2 separate regions of the Homo sapiens genome follow, and region 1 is linked to region 2. The links are contacts of gene promoters, found by promoter capture Hi-C in blood cells and fetal thymus (Javierre and others, 2016). All regions are on one chromosome and are shown on one strand. Each heading gives the region's core, a stretch centred on a gene start or on the middle of the fragment in contact. The rest is flanking DNA. Distances are from core to core; before and after follow the strand shown.

What was found. The method cuts DNA at HindIII sites, captures the fragments that hold promoters and counts their contacts. A CHiCAGO score of 5 or more calls a contact.
Region 1: a contact is called between a fragment that was not itself captured here and the fragment with the promoter of KMO in region 2, in 4 of 17 cell types (monocytes, M0 macrophages, M2 macrophages and 1 more). The highest score is 9.2, in monocytes.

Annotation. Positions count from the first base shown.
Region 1 is chr1:241,596,464-241,602,479 of GRCh38, reverse strand. OPN3 (opsin 3) reads left to right here. Exons shown (of 4, transcript NM_014322.3): 3 at 4,483-4,734. Among named protein-coding and RNA genes, the nearest start is that of CHML, 41 kb to the left of the region's middle. The HindIII fragment of the contact is 4,325 bases long and covers 417-4,741 here.
Region 2 is chr1:241,527,207-241,533,691 of GRCh38, reverse strand. KMO (kynurenine 3-monooxygenase) reads right to left here and starts at 1,314. Exons shown (of 15, transcript NM_003679.5): 1 at 1,194-1,314. The coding sequence starts at 1,247. RefSeq lists an enhancer at 1,582-1,731. The HindIII fragment of the contact is 7,761 bases long and covers 1-5,514 here.

The DNA.
Region 1 (6,016 bases), core at 1,330-3,829, 68 kb before region 2:
TTGTAGTTCAGGGAGTTGGTAGTTTAGTAAGTTTATCTAGCATTCATTCCTCAACTTAAGGCAAACTTGTGACTCCTTCCTCTACCGCACTGCCACTAATACAGCCCTCATTTCAGGTCATTGATGAGCTCCCAGATATGTGATCCCATGGACACATTTTTATTCCTTTCTAGCATCCTCAGCGTTTGAGACTATTGCCAACTTCTACTTTCTTGTGGTGGTCTCCTGCCATCGATTCTAGGGCGCCTTTCTCTGCTGTCTTTGTTGCTGACTCTCTGGCGCCATCTTCTTATCTCTTCCAAGGGCTTCTCTTCTTTGGGCCTCCCCAGCATCCTATGTTTAGCTCTTGTCCCATGCTACACACTGGCCTTGGGTGGTCTTTCATACTGCCAGGATTTCTCCTTCTGACACAAGCTTGATAACATCTCCATTTCCAGTTCAGGTCTTTCTTCCAGCCTCTAACAGATCCTCGTAGTCAATTGCCTCTTGAACACCTCCACTTGGATGGTCCACAGACTCATCAAATTTAACAAATATAAAGATTAATTTGTCATATTTTCCCTAAAATCTTCTGCTCGTCTATTTGCTTTCTCATTGAATAGTCATCATTCCTAGATACCAAGACCAGAAATTAGGGAGTAATCTTTGACTATGTGTCATCCATGTCTCCCCCAACACACAACTATTGATCAGTTCTTATCCATGCCACTTACATGTTTTTTTGTTTCGTTTTGTTTCTGTTTGTTTGTTTGTTTTGTTTTGTTTTGTTTTTTGAGACGAAGTTTTACTCTTATTGCCCAGGCTGGAGTGCAATGGCAGAATCTCGGCTCACTGCAACCTCCGCCTCACAGGTTCAAGCAATTCTCCTGCCTCAGCCTCCTGAGTAGCTGGGATTACAGGTGCCCACCACCATGCCTGGCTAATTTTTAAAATATTTTTAGTAGAGATGGGGTTTCACCATGTTGGCCAGGCTGGTTTCGAACTCCTGACCTCATGATCTGCCCGCCTTGGCCTCCCAAAGTGCTAGGATTACAGGTGTGAGCCACTGCTCCTAGCCCTATATTTTTTGGTATATCCATTTTTTCCTCTCCCACTGCCACAGACTCAGTTAAAAAAAAAAAACTTAGTTCTCCTTTTTAAAATTTTTGCTTTCCTCTATTCCATTCTTTACACACTGCCATCAGAGTAGTTGTTCTCAAGTATTACCTTCAGAAGTTCCACTGTCTTTGTGACTCAAAATAAAGCCCCTGGGTGTGGCCGGCAGGTCCTGTATGGCATCTCCTGTCTACCTGTCCAGCCTCATTTCTTGACACTCCTGTCTTCTTGCCACCTCATGATGCGGCCAATGGTAATATTTCTTGTTTTCAGAAACTGACTTTTTATTTTGCCTCTTGTCTTAGCACACTTTCTTTCTCTGGAACATTCTGTCTCTCCTCCTTACTTGACTAATTCCTCCTTCCCTCACAAGGCTAACAGCACGATTTTCTTGCTCTAACCCACCCTCAGAACCAGTTTCCCATCCTGTGTACTACCATATCCTCCCTGTTTACCTCCCTCATGGCTTCTACCCGCTCAGTGTGCATCATCCTCACCAAATAGTGAATTCCTCAAGAGCAGAGACTGGGTCTTATGTATTTTCTCACCTGTGACTGGAACAGTGTCTGCATGTAGTAGGTAATCAGTGACTATTTTTGGAATGAGTTACAAGCAGAGGGCATAGAAAGGGGAAGACAGGAGAAGGGGTGAAAGTGTGAAGAGATTTGACTTTAGCTGCTATCTAAACAGAGAGCTCACTGCAAGTAATTTGCCTCCGTTTCCTTATTCAGAGAGAGGTGACTCATAACAACGATGGAGACATAGCTACACACTTGAGAATGAAGATTCACAGTGAAATTCTTTGAAAATCTACAGATGTCTTGGATTAAGGAGCACTAGGCACCAGCCATTTATACAGCCAGAGAACAATCTGATAGAGAATTCTGAAGAATTTGTCTTAGCTGGTTCATTCTTTAGGACAAATTTGTGCCTGTGCCAATCATTTCAAAATTGCTTCATCCATAGCAATTTTGAAAACTATCCTCAAATGATTGAATAAAGAGGGTAAGACATGAAATCGAGTTTTTTATTTGGAAAATATTTAATGAGCAGAATGAAGGAATAGAAAGTAATGAAAGAAAGAGGCCTGAAAAAGATAAATAAAAAATAATCATGAAAACTTCACATATATAAACCCAAATAATCTAAAACATTAGTCAATATCTTCTCCTTATCCCAAAGAGGAACTGGGGATGTATAGACAAACATTTATTTAAATTAATTTCCCCAGCATGCATGTAATTCCAAGATGGATAAATGAGTGTTCTCCTTTGATAAATGGCGAGAGGGGATAAAGACTGACCTGCCCAGAAAATGGTACAGATAAAACGATTGGACCTAAATACTGGAGGTTTGGGAGGCAGATAACTGAGATGTGGTTATGTTGCTTGTTAATTGAAACTCTGAAGAGTCAATAATGATTCCAGATATCCTATAGTATCATAAATGTACATATACATACAAGTGTGTTAGTCTCATATCTAGTTCAAATATAAATAAGTATTTAACCTCAAAAACAACCCCACAAAGTCATACGTGTGGAAATGGAACTCAAGTTCTGTTAATTCTCATAGGTTTTTTTGCTTTACCTCCTTTCTTGTTTACTCTTAGAGGAGGTTGTTGACTTGCTCAATATCACACTGCGAGCAAAAGTGGTTAATCTGGGATATAAACTTAGATCTTCTAATTCCAAATCTAGACCTTTTATCAAAACCCCACAGCCTTCCTATAAACTAGGGAAGCTCCCCCAAAATGATGTTTTGAAAATAGAAAAATATTCTATCCCATTAAATAAAACAGTTTCTTTTAAAATAGAATTGCACACACAGAATAGTAGTATTCGGTTGGTGCAAAAGTAATTGCGGTTTTTGCCGTTAAAGGTAAACCTTTAAAGGTAACCTTTTTTAAAGGTAAATTATTTACCTTTCTGCACACCAAAAATATGTTCCTAAATAAAAATAGTTATCTCTGAACATTGTAATAAGTTATATGAATTTTACTACAAAAATACAAATACTTTATATATTGATTTTTTAAAGTAATTGGCATAGTGGTAAAGGAATATTATTTACCTTTAAATAAGGTGACCTTCAAAGGTTTACCTTTAATGGCAAAAACCACAATTACTTTTGCACCAAACTAATACCAGAAATTTAATACCCACTTTTCCCTGCACATAGTCTCTCTACCCTAAAAAAATCAATGATTTAAATTTTTCCTATTTCTCTCTATTCTTTGCTAATCTGAATACATGATTTTGATAAGAATATAATTTCTTAAATATAATTTTGGATATCAGTAATTTGAGAATTTTAATTAAAATATATTTCTAAATAATCTAAGCACATGTTCTAAATGATTTCTTTGGAAATTCTTTCTCTTAATTTTTATGATAATGCTAGAACCAAAAGGTACACTTAGAGTTCATTGAAATGCAGTAAATTTCCAGGCATAAAGTAATCAATACTAAGTATTAACTATATGCTAACTACTTAAAAAATCAATATATAGAGTATTTGTATTTTTGTAGTATAATTCATATAACTTATTACAATGTTTAGAGAGAACTATTTTGATTTAGGAACACATTTTTGGTGTGCAGAAATATTCTTTGCCTGTGTATTATTATGACACATATATAATAATAGGAGAAACAGCAAAAAGAAACATATTCAAGAAACTCAAAGAACTTTCAGGCTGTACATCATTACTCCTCCATCCCTTTAATGGGAACAGACTGCGAGTAGACAGGCTGGTTTTAGAGGAAGGAGTTGTTTTACCAAGTGCTGTTCTCTGCAAGTGATCCCCTAATGAAGCCAATCACAAACAAATTTCTCCTGAAATTCTACTTTACAGTCATTAGCAGTGAATTGAAAAGCTGGTTTTCAGTAAGAATTCACTTGGGAATTAAGTGCTCATCAAGGCCAGCTGCAGGCTTAATCATGCAGAACACCTGACATGACATGGGTGTGCAGTCTGATTTGAGAACTGGAGGACTAACACTCTATAGAGTTTCCAGGATCACAGGGAAATTCTTTGCATTTTATCGTGACTCTCTCAGGCTGTCTTTTAGAGACTTGAAGATCTAGGCAAAATAATGTTATTCTTATTAAGTAAATAAGAGAACGTCAAAAAAAACACTGAAGGATGTAGGAGGCTCTGTAGCTCAACCACCCTATGTTGTAAGTGGGGAGACTGAGGCCCGGCAAGGTTAAAGCTGGACTCAGCTATGAGTCTTGGATCAGAAGTCAGCCTGCCAAGGTGCCATTCAGTTCTCTTTCCATTTAGGTGGGGCCAAGAATGGTGTCTGAATATCTGTTATAAAAACAACAAAAGAAACCCTTCTTTTGTTTTTTAAGCCCTTTCCTTTCTTTCTCCTTTCTGCAGCTTCGTTGTGTGGAAGATCTTCAGACAATTCAAGTGATCAAGATTTTAAAATATGAAAAGAAACTGGCCAAAATGTGCTTTTTAATGATATTCACCTTCCTGGTCTGTTGGATGCCTTATATCGTGATCTGCTTCTTGGTGGTTAATGGTCATGGTCACCTGGTCACTCCAACAATATCTATTGTTTCGTACCTCTTTGCTAAATCGAACACTGTATACAATCCAGTGATTTATGTCTTCATGATCAGAAAGGTAAGCTTTGCAATTAACTGATTGTTTTCACCCTGGGCATAGAGTTGGAAATGACAGTGTAATACTTTTACAGAGGTGATTCAGAGTCGCTTCAATTAAAAAAAAAACAAGAATTTTTTAGGAATTAAAGGGATCTGGAAGAAATGTAGAATATTTCCAAAGAAAATCATAACAATTCTAAGAACTACCCATAGGGATTCACACTTGTTAGGTAGAATTCTAGTAAAACTAATATTTAATTCATCAGAAAATAGTTTATGCCTAGTAATAACAGCTACAATGTTAATAATACATTTAAAATTCCTACTGTACCAAGCAAGTTACAAGCAAGTCACAAACAAGTTACAAGCCAGTTTACAAAACTCCACAAAATAGGCACTAATATTATTCCTTGTTTTATTTATGGGTTATGAATAAGTTCAGAGAAGTTAAATAACTTGCCCAATCCAGGAAGTATTGGTGCCAGGATTTGAACCTAGTTTGCTCAAATCCCCAAATCCAGTGCTTATAACTCCTCACTTGGGGTTATAGATACTTGTAGCAATTGGCCTGGGTTGTTATTCACATGCCACAGCAAATGTCTAGCCTAAATTAATTTGGTTCAAGAAACTTCCTGGGCCTGGTGTGGTGGCTCAAGCCAGTAAACCCAGCACTTGGGCATGCTGAGGCAGAAGGATTGCTTGAGCTAAGAGTTCAAGACCAACCTGGGCAACATAATGAGATGCCCCGCTCTCTCAAAAAAAAAAAAGAAAAAATTAGCTGGGCATGGTGGCATGTGCCTTAGTCGCAGCTACTCAGGGGCCTGAGATGAAAGGATCTCTTGAGCCCAGGAGGTCAAGGCTGCAGTGACCCACTATCGCACCAGTGCATTCCAGCCTGGGCGACAGAGCGAGACCCTGTCTCAAAAAGAAGAGGAACTTCCTTATCATCTGTTTCTGTAGTTGAAAGGTTTTGACTTGATGGCTATGAGTCATGGCTAGGAGAGCCCACAAAATGATTATTATAAAGCTGAGCCTCTACGTTTCAGAGAATTTAAAAGTTAAAGATAATGCTTAATTACTCCATTGGAATTTTAAAGATAACAGGTCATAATAATAACAGGCAATAATAATCACTGTGACTTCTAATGCTCAAGAATGTGGAAGAAGAGGGCACTTTTGTAATAACCTTATTATGTTCAGTGCTAAATCTCTCTGCCTCTTATTTTGCCTTTCCTTCTCTTTGAGTATTATTGGCTTACACTCTCCATAAACTCACTTTCACCTGCCTTAATCTCCTCTCA
Region 2 (6,485 bases), core at 65-2,564:
TCACCCTCGCATCCCTACTACCTAAAACAATATTGGTACATAGTAATCAGATTTTGTTGAACACATGAATTCTCATTTTGTGCAACATTTTGATAGGACAGATTGGACACAAGCCTAGTATGAAGCAGTGACGACACATGTCCCAACCAGTGACCAACACATCATGTGATAGCATTTCTAAATGAAAATTTAGAATCAGAAATATTAAAAGAACTGTTCTAGCACTTTGGGGAAAAGACACTAAGGAAGGCAGAACAAAAGACAGCATATACTGTATAAATACATGTGTGGCATAAAATATACCATCTATATTCAGCCTAGAACAGTGTTACGCCCTCAATAAATTTTTTGTTGAGTGGATATATGAATAATTAATGAAAAGTCTCCAAATGATTTGACCAAAGGTGATAGGGAAATGATTTAACCTTGACTAACTGGGATGTTTGTATTCTGAAACAGAAATTCTGCTGAGATGGGAAAAAGCAAAGTTGAATCGGAGCAGACCCATGTTAAACAGAACTACCTTTGGCACCATAACTATGAAAGCAGAGAGTGACCTCTCCTTCCGTCTTGTTAGGTATGGGGGAAGCCCCAGCACCTTTACGTCACGTGCTCAGTGAGAGGTGAACACCTCACTCCACTGTCTTAGGTGCTCCACTGGAAGAGTCAAGTAAGTCAGGCGACCACATAAATCTTATTCCCAATTACTCATATAACTAGTGAACATTCAACATGATACTTTGACGTTAGCTTCATGTTTCTTGACCCTTTTATTCTCATTAGACAGCATTAACTGAGTTATTAAACAAAGCGGAACAAATGTTTTTATTAAAATGAATATTGAGACTAATTCCTGTTCCTAAAAACATAGCCAATTTGGGGATAAAATCAAATTCAATTTGCATTATTTTTGCTTTTTAACAAATCCTAAACCAAAATGATGAGGGAAAACAGAAACCTTTGTATTTAATGGCTATAAAATACCTTTCCTGAAAAAGAACAGATTAAAACTCATACTATATTAAATCTATGAAAATAAAAATATTAAAAAAATAAACAAAATAGCTGTATTTAAATATCAGAGTTTTCACAAGAAAATTAACAATTTGCAGAAGTGACGAATAATAATCATTACGAGTAATAATAGTTAATATAATACCACCAACAATAGTAATCCATCTGAAAATTCTTACCAAGCCACCACCAATGACAGCTACTTTTTTCCTTTGAATGACAGATGAGTCCATAACTGCTGAAGTATTTTTCACAATTATTGTTGCTTCTGTCACTGAGTGACACTGATTTCTGTGTCTCCTACACACTGATTTCTCTGAGTTTTTATACTGCCCCAAGCCTAGTGCATTCATGAGCCAGCGGCAATGTTTAGTCAGGGCTAATTTCCCTTGACAGTATTAACCCATTAGTTGGCCAAAGTACAATCAGCTCAGCTCTAAGAAAAAATAAATCCATTACAATAACCAAATTTTTTAAAAAATCCATCCAATTGGAGACACTCTATTTTTTCTATCTTCTGTGTAAGACACAGAAATTTTTAAGCAGTCTTGTGGCTTTTCTTCTTCTTTTTCTACAGCATATATTCTTAGTTTCGTTTTCATTCATGATTAACCATGAATGGAGCCCTTCTCATCTGAAGTCCAAAAACATCTTATACCTCCCTTAGAGAGTAAGATGACATGGTTTCATAATTCATCTGTGGATCATTTTTGTGGTTAAGACCAATCAAAAATTTCATCTAAAGGGTCCTCATGGATTGTTTTTAACAGGCTCTACCAGGGAAAATTCTCTGCAAGGTCTTAATATTCTCCCGATCAACATTTTGAATTGTGTAACTGACCATACTTCCCCTTTTTTTTTTCAGCCCAGATGCTAGAAAATTTAGAATCTAATTTTAGAATCGAAAATTTAGAGTCTAATTACCACTAGGGGAGATGACTGACACAACGCTTCTGTAAACTCATTCCCGACTTCATATTATCTATTCACTTTTTTGTCTTTTTCACTCCGTTTTAAATGTTATACTTTTGTGCATGATTTGCGAATGGCAATTGTTTTCTGGAACATGATGTGGTGTAATGTAAAATAAGAACATAAATGAAGTTGTTTCTTCACTTCCTGTTAAGCACATAAAGAATTCAGAACGTTTTTTTCCCTGGTTAGGAACTAGAGTTAAATGGCATTCAATAGTGACCCCTTGTGGATAAGCATGATTAGGTATTTTATTTATTTTGAATAGGTAATACATTAACATGGCATGAAATTAAAGACACAAAAGAGTACACGGTGAATAGTAATCCTGCTAACCTTGACCCTTGGCCACCTATTCCTCCTGCCCAAAGACAACAACTGTTTTGGTGTGTGGGTTACCGTATTCTTCTACACGTTGATTATGTCTTTCTTGTTCTTCCTCTCTCTCCTTTTCTCTCTCTCTTTCTCTCACTCTCTCATTCCCTTCCTTCCTTTCTTTTTAAACATACATTTAAAAACTTTTTCCACATCATATTTCTCACTTTACAACATATAGCTTGAGAATTCTTCAATATCAATATGTAGAGAATATGTATCAATTCCTCAGTATCAATATGTATCATTGTTAAAAAATCTTTTAAAAATTATGAACTATAACACAAATGAACAGTATAATAAGTTACTGTAAAGCAAGTATCCATGTAACTACCATTTAGGTGCAGAGAGAGAATATTGCCAGAATCCCAGAAGTCTAACGTGCCCCCTGTTAATCACCCCTCCTTCGTAGAGGTAACTGCCATACCAACTTTCTTTGCTTTTATGTATAATTGTACCATGATAGATGCATCCCTAAAATAGTTTAGTGTTGACTTTTTTGAACTTTCCTATAAATGAACTTATACTGTTTATTTTTTTACAACTTGCTTCTTTTTCTCAATATTATATCTCTTAAGATCCATTTGTGTTGTTGCATGTTTTTCCAGTTCATTCATTTTTATCGTCATTTATTATTTGTCCATTGTGCTGTTGATGGACATTTGGGGTGTTTCCAAATTTTTAATATCATGAATAATGGTGTTGCCATAAACACTCTTGTGTATACAATGTCATGTACATATGTATGAGTATCTCTAGGTTTCATATGCTGTTTATGCTTTTTTGTTTGTTTTTTGTTTTTTGGGTTTTTTTGAGATGGAGTCTCACTCTGTCACCCAGGCTGGAGTGCAATGGTGCAATCTCGGCTCACTGCAACCTCTGCCTCCCAGGTTCAACTGATTCTCCTGCCTCAGCCTCCCGAGTAGCTGGGATTACAGGTGCCTGCTACCACGCCTAGCTAATTTTTGTATTTTTTCAGTAGAGATGGGGTTTCACCATGTTGACTAGGCTGGTCTTGAACTCGGCCTCAAGTGGTCCACCCGCCTCAGCCTCCCAAAGTGCTGGAATTACAGATGTGAGTGACTGCGCCCAGCCATGTTTATGCATATTTTTAACCTTTCTGAATAAACGAAAGTTACATTCCAAAGTAGTGCATTAGCTTTTACTTAACACAATGTGTAAAATTTGTCTTCTGCTGTATCCTCACCAATGTATGTATTGCCAAGAATTTTTAATTTTTGCCAGTCTGGTAGATGTGCTTTATATTTCAGTGTTCTTTTAATTTGCAGTCCTTTGATTATCAGTGAAGTTGAGCACATTTTTACCTGTTCATTCACAACTTCTTTTTCTTCTTCTGTATAGGTAGTGTTAATTTTTGGGGGGGGAGGGTGGGAATTTTTTTTTCCTTTTTTGAGTCCCATTGCATATGAACTTTAGTACTTAGATATGTCACAAATAACATTTCATTCACTCTGTGGCTTGCCTTTTTGCTTTCCTAGTGGTGTCTTTTGATGAAAGAATATTCTTCATTTAATACATTCTTTTCCCTTGTGGTTAGAGTTTTTCATGTCATGTTTTATCACTTTTTTTGTATAATCTTGAGGTCATGAGGATATTCTTCCATGTTGACTTCTAAAATAGTTATAATTTACCTTTCATTTTTAGGTCTATGATCAACATGGAGTTAGTTTTTTTGTTTTTGGAATGCTGTGATATAGATGTCAAAATTTTATTTGTTTTCCAAATGAATACCCAATATTCCCTGTACCAATAAATGAAAAGACTTTCCTTTTCCCGCATTGCCTTTGGTGTAGGTCCAGTGTTCATATATGTGTGGGTCTCGTTCCAGGTTTCTATTCTATTTCATTCCATATAGTCTATACTGCCCATACTATACCTACTAATGCCAGTTCCAAAGCCAAATTACAATAGCTTTAATACAATCCTTAATATCTTCATCAATTCACCCACCTTGTCCTTCATTAATAATGTATTGACTATTCTTGGTGCTTTGTATTTCCATCTGTTTTAGAATCAGCCTGTTAATTCCATTTTAAAAATCCCTAAAATAAAAATATGGTTGGGATTTTTGACTGGGATTGCTTCGAAGTTATACATCTATCTGGAAAGAATAACTATTTTGACTACTGCGTCTTTCCATTCAGAATATGATATGCCCCTCCCCACCATCTGTTTGTCATCTCCAAGGCTTACAAAGTTATATTCTTTCCCTGTAGAGGTTTGATCCCCTATTATTATGTTTAGGTAATTGATTTTTTAAATTTTATTGTAAATAATATCTTTCATTTCATTTTCTACTATTAATAGTATTTAGAAACACATTATTTTCCATTTTGTGAGCTTGTATGCAGCAGCATTGCAAAAGTTATTAATTCTATTGATTTTGTCTGTAGATTTTTTGATTTTTCTTTTCACCCAATCGCAATGACAGTCCCTTCCTTCCTTCTTTCCTTCCTTCCTTCATTCCTTTTTGTCTTTCTTTCCTGTTGACTGAATGGTGGATTTTTCTCTTCACCACAATCATGGTAGTTTCTCTCTCTCTCTCTCTCTCTCTCTCTCTCTCTCTCTCTCTCTCTCTCTCTCTCTCTCCCCCTGCTACTGACTGATTGAATGATTCTTTCCATGCTGGCTAGTACCTCCAGTACAGGGTGGAATACAGGTTTATTTCTTAAGTTCCAAATGCATGGCACATCCTAGTTTTCTTATTGTTATTGGTTTTTAGCAAAATTCCAGTGAGGCCAGCTAATATGTGCTATAGATTTTCAAACATGTGAAACGGGTTAAGACTCATTGTATGGCCATAAAGTGGTAAATTTGTGTAAATGCTTTGTGTGTACTTGAAATATATATATATTCAAGTATTTCAGAATATATATATATTATATATATATATATTCTGAAATTAATGTATATATTTTCCTATACATATCCATTAGGTCAAGTTTATTAATCATGTGTTCAAAACTTTTGTATTCTCGCTAACTTTTGGTATGCTTGTTTTGTCAATTACTGAAAAAGGTTATGTTAAATAATCTCACGCTGTGATTGGTATTTGTCTGTTTCTTCAGCATTTCTATCTATATGGAACAATCCACATTTAAAGCTGCTATCCATTACTGGTAAACTAAAGCTTTTATTATTATGAAGCAAATAATTATTTTTGCCTTAAACTTTATTTGATAGTACTATTAGCTTTTATATTTAGGTTAGCATTTACATATTATATCATTTCCAACCTTTTGGTTTCAACTTTCTTTTATTCTTATGTGGCCTTTGTAAACAGCATTCTGTTGAACGTTTTAAAATCCAGTCTAGTCTTTAATCTTTATCTTTTAACTTGAGTCTTCGGCTTTCTGTCGTTTCACTAAGATGTATCTACATAAAAATTTATTTTTATAGATCCTAGCAGGAAATCATTGGGTTGCTTAATAGAGATTGGTTTCTTCCCTTGTCTCTTATCCTTTAATCTGTATTTTCATTGCTTGTCCTTTTGTGCTTCGCTATGGATAGTTATGTTAATGCATTATGTATTTTAATGTATTATTGAATTTCCCAATTCTTTTTTCTACTGTCTAGTCAGCTGATAAACTCATCCATTATGCTCTTAACTTTGATTATTGCAATTTTTTAGTTCTGGAATTTTTATTTTATTTTTCATATGTACCACAATATTTTTAGTTTCCAGCACCCTTGCCAAAATCCTCAAGTTTATGTTTATTACTTAACATAATAAACATGAATGTCTTACGGTCTGTGTCTGATAATTTCTACTGTGGCTTTGTTTTGATGGTTATTTATCGTTTGTAGACACTTATGTTATCTAATTTCCCTGTGAGCATTTTAAGCTTTGAGTGCTCAAAATGGTAGTTGAAAAAAAAAAAAAACCTACTTGTAAGTAGTTTGAGGCTTCAGGCATCAGTGTATTGCTTTAGAGAAGATTAATTTTGCTTCTGCCTTGTGCTTATGGGTGATTCAGCACTCACTCCGTATGCAATATCAGTGAGGTCTGTCTTAGGAATAGCTGTTCCTTTGGTATCTACATAGCCCATATGGGATAAAACTAGAGATCGTTGTGCTACTTGCTCTCTTTAAGCCTAGAAGTT